Linked DNA regions of Homo sapiens: region 1 is linked to region 2. Evidence: promoter capture Hi-C in human tissues and cell types (Jung and others, 2019). All regions are on one chromosome and are shown on one strand. Each heading gives the region's core, a stretch centred on a gene start or on the middle of the fragment in contact. The rest is flanking DNA. Distances are from core to core; before and after follow the strand shown.

Evidence for each region. Contacts are between HindIII fragments. The study calls those that stand out against the background at their distance.
Region 1: a fragment that was not itself captured here is called in contact with the fragment with the promoter of CAV3 in region 2 in 1 of the 25 tissues and cell types used here (dorsolateral prefrontal cortex).

What each region holds. Positions count from the first base shown.
Region 1 is chr3:7,112,476-7,115,984 of GRCh38, forward strand. The region is part of intron 1 of GRM7 (glutamate metabotropic receptor 7); the gene reads left to right. Among named protein-coding and RNA genes, the nearest start is that of GRM7-AS2, 220 kb to the left of the region's middle. The HindIII fragment of the contact is 7,713 bases long and covers 1-3,509 here.
Region 2 is chr3:8,732,482-8,736,404 of GRCh38, forward strand. It overlaps CAV3 (caveolin 3), which reads left to right and starts at 1,321. Exons shown (of 2, transcript NM_033337.3): 1 at 1,321-1,509. The coding sequence starts at 1,396. The HindIII fragment of the contact is 9,052 bases long and covers 1-3,923 here.

The sequences.
Region 1 (3,509 bases), core at 260-2,759, 1.6 Mb before region 2:
GGCCTCCCAAAGTGCTGGGATTACAGGCATGAGCCACTGCACCTGGCCTTATGATTCTTAAAATGCATTTGCTTCACATTTTTATATCTCTGACTTTGAGAATTATCTTGCAATGGATGCTGATCAGCCTGGTGTGCCATCAGCCTGGTGTGTGGCAGCCCCCACTCGGTTGTTTTTGTCCTCACTTGGCTTGTGCTCCATCATGGCCATGACTGTCATCACTTCAATTAAGCCATGTGCATGACTAGTGGTAAATGTATTGATGCCATGTGCCAAGCTGTGCTACCAGCTTCAGGAGAAATTTTCCTATCCCTCAGAATAGAAGAAAGGAATTTCAAGGTCATGAGTGACTGGTATGACTGATTCAGCAGGTGTATTGGCCACACATCAAACAATAGGACTACCACTTCCTGTTAACTTTGAACAGAAGCTCCTTCCCTTTCAGCAGCCTGTGACTCCATAGAGAAAGAAACAAAACTGAGTTGGTTCAGGTTAGACAGCACTAGCATCAAACTTTTCAAAATGAGCTTAGATGAAAACTCTGTAGGAAAAGTAATGAAACATAGACTGATGATTCCAAGGGAAAAAAAGTGATTGAGAAGAGCTGGGTCCTGATGAACTTTTAGTAATACCATTACTGCTTTTTTTTAACACTATAAAACACACTTAAAAATCATTGTGTACTTGAAATGTTTCTTTCAAAATACGTGAAAAAAATTAAAAAATATGTACGAAACAATTCTAAGTGGTAAGAATGCATTGTCATAGTTTAATTATAGTGACTTTATTTTATTTTTATTAATACTTTGTTTTAGAGCAGGTATAGATTCACAGAAAAATTGAGCAGAAAGTACAGAGAATTCTCATATTTCCCCTGCTTCAACAAATACACAGCCTCGTTCCTTATCTACATCCTGCACCTCAGTGGTACATTTGTTCCAATGTATTATTTTATCTAGAAATAATATTTCAACATATTGCCCAGGCTGGTCTCCAACTCCAAGGCTCAATTAATTCTCTTGCCTGAGCATCCCAAAGTGCTGGGATTACAGGCATGACTCTTGATGAACTTACAATGACACATCACCATCACCCAGAGTTCATAAGTTTATTTTAGGGTTCACTCTTGGTGTTGCCCATTCTATGGCTTTGGACAAATTTATATTTGCAGTGTTTTTTATTTTTGTATTTTGTCATTGTTGTTCTTCATGGCATATTAAATAATGGTGCATCTTATTAGTAGATGGTATAAGATGTGATGAAATATGGTATCTGTCTCCACTCCCAACTCATGAGCCATCACCAGAATTCTGGTGCAAACCCTCAACGGTATGGTTTTCTATGGCCGAAGTGAAAATAGCAATTGTCATTTGAGTATTTAGTTTGCGTCTGGTATACTGACAAGTGATTTACTTGTATTATTTTTAGTGGTAACATCTCTATAAATTATCTCATTTTGTAGATTAAGTAAGTTTTCAAAGATGACACGGGACTTCAATGACAGAGTTAGATTTTGAACAGATATTTATCTGATTTCAATTGCCCTAAATACAGCTACTATGCATATTGCCTCTCAGATAATAGATACTGAAATTTTTAAAATCAGCTGTGTCATGGCAAGTAAAGATGTGTGACTTAATGGAGATAAAGCTTAACATTTTGGGGAAAACGTGTAAGTTCAATGACTTTTATAATCCTTGGTTTACTCTAGTGCAGATATGAACAATAGCACATACTTACTAGAAGTGGAACTTGCTGTCAGGCTACTTAACATTGTAATGGTTTAATGAGCAATGAGGTTATTACACAAATGCAACCCATTCTGAAGATGCTCAGTCCCTTCACATACCTTACTTCAAAACCTACTTTGTTAAAAATAATAATCATTATAAAATACAGTCAACTTTCTACTAAATCTATTCTCCAATTATTTAACTCTGGTTTATACATTCACATCTGGTGACCCCCTGATAAACTGAGGGGCTTTGTTCTAAAACAACAGAATACATTTTTTAATACATAAAATTTACTAAGGATTAAACATGCACATCTGGAAAATGCAGTCTCCTCTTTCCTCTAATACAGCCACAAAAAGGATCAATAAAGCTAATTAATCTGCTGCTTTGAAATAAACGCACAGGTCCAATTGAGAAAACTTTTTTCCTCTGCGTACCTGGTTCTGTTGAAATCACCACAGAACTTGTGTTTCTTGGCACTATCCAAACGCTGCACTTTTGGAAAGCCTGGAGTACATAGCTAATTAGAATAAATTGGGAGTATAACATAGCAGGTCTGGGGTAAAAGTCAGAAACAGGTTTGGACCAAGTTTTTCCAGTTTCTAATGACCAGTTTCGTGGTGTTTTCCTTTCATCGCTGATCTCAGGAACAATTGGAGATCATCACTGCTGCCCACCCCATGTTTTGCCCTCTCCTGGTGGCAGCATGGCATGCTATCACCCCTTGCTCCTCTGCAAATGGCCCTCATGAGAAGGAGCTCGGATGAGGTAGTGAAAGGCACTATTTGACAAAAACTTGCTGTGTGCCAATCACTGAATGAAGATGATTTTCATGTGTCATTTTTGCTATTCTGTGATTCAGTCTTTTCACTTCAATCCATAGATATGTATTCTAAGTCACAGAGAAACTATGCCACTTATCTAAGGTCAGATGGCTAAATACTTGGGTAAGAGATGACTTAAATCTAATGATTTTAGATTCCAGAGCACATGATCTGAACCATAATGCTATATTTTAATAAGTACAAACTTTAGGACAATGTTGGTTCTCCATCTGCTTAAAGTCACTCTGCTTCTGTGTGCAATTTTCTTAGCTTCTCTTTGCTAGTGATAACAGACTTGCTGAAGTTGTCCCAGGAAGATGCAAAATAACATATGTCAAGCACCTGAAAAAATCCTAGGTGCTCTGAGCGTGCTAATTTCTTTCTCAAATCCCCCTTTTCCTGTGTTGCTGTGAGTGCCAGTATCTCCTTGCTGCTCCTGCCAATGAGATAGATATATAGATAGATGCTATAGGAATATTGACAAGAGCCTTTTTCTCAAGTTAAGGTCTATAAAAGGCTGGTGGATGATAACTCCATCTCTGCTTTCTAAATCAAGGGAAGGGCTAATCTATTATAAATGTTACTCTTCCCTGGAGACTTCTATGGGAAGTCATTCAGGACAGGTAGCTGTAATGGTGTCACTCAGATCATCTAATTAAATGACGCCTGCCCTCACTAATCATGGAGAGGGCCTAGAAGGGAAGGCGACACATTATTCCAGATTAATTCCTGATTATTCTGTACAAATAGAAGGTTTAGTAAGAGAGAGCCTGAATCAATAAGCATATATGTGTCAGAGGGTTGAAATGAATCTTTCATCCTCCTGGAACAGTCTAGGTTTCACAAATCAACAACCTGGCAGTACTGCATTTGGGTACAAAACAAGGATCAGAAAATTACCTTTTATAGACATTGCCTTTCAGATGTCTCATTACTGCCACTCTCAAAC
Region 2 (3,923 bases), core at 71-2,570:
AGACACCCTGTGCTCCAGCCACTCCACACTTTTCAACATTCCTGTCTATACCACTCCTCAATATCCACAATCCTGTAACTTGAAGTGTTCTAGGTGCTGAGCTCCTGCTTGTCATTCGATACCTATCTGCAAAGCCACCTCCCACAGGAAGTCTTCCCCGGTGTCCTCAGAGTAAGTTACTGACTCCTATGGACTTCTAAGACCAGCTCTTTGTAAAATATCTCTGATCTGTGGCACTTACCGCACAGTATTATAATCACTTATTGTTTTAATTAGTCTCCCCACCTTGACTGGGAGCACTTCAAGGCGGACAGAGCCTTGTTGGTCTGTTTATCCCCAGCTATTAGCAAATCCTGAATGAAGGAGTGAATAGACAGGTAAATGGAAGCACAGACCCTGACCCCTGAGGATTCAGAGTTGCCATCCTTCATGCTGCTGGAGCCCAGGGGAAGGCTGAGTTAGAAGAGGGCACAGAAAAACCGAGCAGGTATCTAAGAGAGGTGCACCCCACTGATGCATGTGGAGTGTCTGGGACCCAAGAAAATCCTGGAAGCTGTCACTAGGGCAGGGTGAAGGGTAGCACGAACATGGACTTCATGTTCCCCCCACCGGGCATATCCCAGTGCAGGCTCCAGACGGCAGACGAGGGGCAGCCCCACAGCAGCTTCCTCTCCCTGTTTCATCCCCAGCCTGGCCCCACACCACAGTCCATCAACTCCTGCTCCAGGTGGAAACCTCAGAAACCCACAAAGCTCGGACCTGCTCCAGGTCACCAAGCAGCAGGGCCAGGCACTGGCAATCCAACGAGAAGCCCCACTACATCGCATTCCAGCTCCTGAAGCCATTCCCTGGGTAGGAGAGCCCTGATTGTTATTATCATCTCTCCATTTTACAGATGGGGACAGAGTGGCCTAGAGAGGTGAAGTGTGCCAAAGGTCACACAGCCAGCCAGAGGCAGAGGAGGGACTAACCCCACTTCCCTCCACGGGCAGTGCACCCCAAAGGAGCCAAAATGCTGACAGCAGTGGGGCAAATTCCAGGGGCCCCGGAGCGACCGCCGAGTTGGCCACAGCCACACGATGCATAGGAAACGCTAGGCCCTCTGCACCCTCTCCTGAGGCCCAGTGCCCTGAGGCAGCCCCCTTTAAGGAGCGATCGGCCTTCCAGAAGAGCTCCAGTCTTAATTTTAGCTTGGAGGCCTGCCACAGGAGGCTTTAGAGAGAGGCAGGCTGAAGTTATGTGGGACAGCTGTCAGCCGGCATGCTGGGTGGGGCCTATTTAGCTGGCAGGGACATAAGTCTGGGGACACTGAATTGGTCTCTCTGCCCCAAGTATTTTCAGCCCCAGCCGGCCACACAGCTCGGATCTCCTCCTGTGGATCCCCCCAGCTCTGCGATGATGGCAGAAGAGCACACAGATCTCGAGGCCCAGATCGTCAAGGATATCCACTGCAAGGAGATTGACCTGGTGAACCGAGACCCCAAGAACATTAACGAGGACATAGTCAAGGTAGGCTCTGCAGGCCTGCCTCGGCGGGCGGAGAGTGTCAGGTTTGCGAGACGTGGGCGCTTGGCAGGGGAGGGTATCTGCTGCAGACACAGTTTCCCTGAAAAGAGACTTGTTGCTCTGTTGTCTCTGTATCACCCCCCCAACCCCACCCCACCCCCAAAAAAAGGCTTCTAAATCACCGAAGGATCTTTAGCAAAATCAAGAGCAAAAAATTAGCCTCATCTCCATGACCTAAGTGCTAATCAGGGCAGGAGGAGCGAGTCACAAAGAAAATCCCTCCTTACTACTGTGACGCTCCTGCCACTCACTCCTGGCTCTCACCCTGGGAGGAACAGGAACGGGCGGCCAAGTTGGGCTCCTTTCTGTGCCAAGGGGCATTTCTGCGGTCTCTCCAGTGGGTGCAGGGTTAATCCCCAGAGGGCAGCTTCCAGCAGGGCCGGCAGCCCCTCGAGGTACACTCACTCCCCCAGAGCACTGCCCAATATCTGTCCCCAAGGCCGAGGGCCATGCCCAGCCCTCCCCTAGCTACCCCCTCACCCCAGGTCTAGTGGCCAGGACAGGGCAGACGGCACCCGGGACCCTCGAAGAGAAAGCTCGGGGTTGTCTAGCCCTCAGGGAGTCTCTCAGCGTCTGAAGTTGGGCCTCTTCCCTCGCCTCCTGGTGACACTAGCGGCCCTGCTGCCTCCAGGCCCACACCTTCAATCCAACTTCCAGCCAGTACCCAGAGGGATCTTTCTTTTTTCTTTTTGAGACAGTCTCTCTCTGTCCCCAAGGCTGGAGTGCAGTCGCACACTCACGCCTCACTGCAGCCTCAACCTCCCAGGCTCAAGTGATTCTCCCTCCTCCACCTCCTGATTAGCTGGGACCACAGGCGAGTGCCACCATGCCCAGCTAATTTTTGTATTTTTAGTAGAGACTGGGTTTCATTATGTTGACCAAGCTGGTATCAAACTCTTGGGCTCAAGTGATCCTCCTGCCTCCCAAAGTGCTGGGATTACAGGTGCAAGACTCCACAACTGGCTCAGAGGTACCTTTCTAAAGCAGAATTCCTCCAAGAAGGGTCCCCAGCCACCAGCATCTGAGTCACTGGAGGGGCTGTTAAGAGGCCAGTGTCTGAGGCCTCTCAGATCCTACTGAAAGCATTGGAATCTCAGGCCAGTGCTGTCCAATAGGGATACTGTTACCACAAGGAATTTAAAATTTTCTAGCAGCCACATTTTAAAATGCGAAAGCAAACAGGTGAAATTAATGTTCCTGATATTTCTTACTTAACCCTATATATCTAAAATAGTATTATTTCAACATGTAAGCAATATAAAACAATTATCAATGAGCTATTGTACAGTCTTCAAGTTTGAAATCCAGTGTGCTTCCTATACCCACAGTATATTTCAGTTCAGACCCCACATTTTCATCCGAAATGCTTGTTCTGCATTTAGATTTCATAAAATGTACATGTGAAAATCGATTCGCATGCCTGTACTGTTTCAAACATTCTGCAAAAATTTTTCAATAATGAAATCGGGGTTTACATTTTAATTAAAGTTAAACAAAATCTAGAATTCTTCAGTTTCACTAGCCACATTTCAAGCGCTCAAAGCTCCTGGCCACTGGATCAGACAGGCCTGTATTGCGGTCTTTCAGTGGGGCACCTCCCATGCTGGAGAAGCCTAGCCTCTCCACGTGGCTGTCCAAACCCAACACAATCTGGCCCCAACCTGCTTCTTCTGCCTGGTTGGCTCCCACCTGCCAGCCCACCCACCAGAGTACATTCCTGTGCCATTGCCAGAAGTGCCTGTCCTCTCTTCTCCAGGTGGTGAATGCCTCACTCAGCCTTCAAGGCCCAACTCAAATGCAACCTCCTCCAGAAAGCCTTCCCTGACTCCTCCAGGCAATTAGTTGCTCCCACTTCTGTCCCCCTGCTTCACTCAGGGCATTCCTCCACCACAGCTCTTCTTATACTGGATATTATATTTCTATACATCGTTAGTGATGGAGATAGAGTATACAGTATAGCACAGTGTGAAAGCTGAAATGAGGAAAATTAGGAAACAAATTTCACAAACTGTAAAGCACTATATACATGTAAATAAAATTGTACCTGTAAAATATTATTAGTTATGGTTTCCATCAGTGTCATCTAGCAGGAATAGTCCTGGACTTGACTTTAATAGACTTGATTTCAAATCCAGTCCATTTTACCTAAAAATGATAACACTGGACAAACCAACTAGGTTTTCTGAGACTCAGTTTCCCCTGTAAAGTGGGAATAATATCATTTCCCAATTTACCTCCACCAGGTAAACGAATCTCAAAGCAGCACTGTGCGTTAGAAATATAGCATGAGGATTGAATGAGATGAAGGGTTTGAAAGTGTCTATCACAGTCCCTGGCACCCAGCAAGGATGAGACAG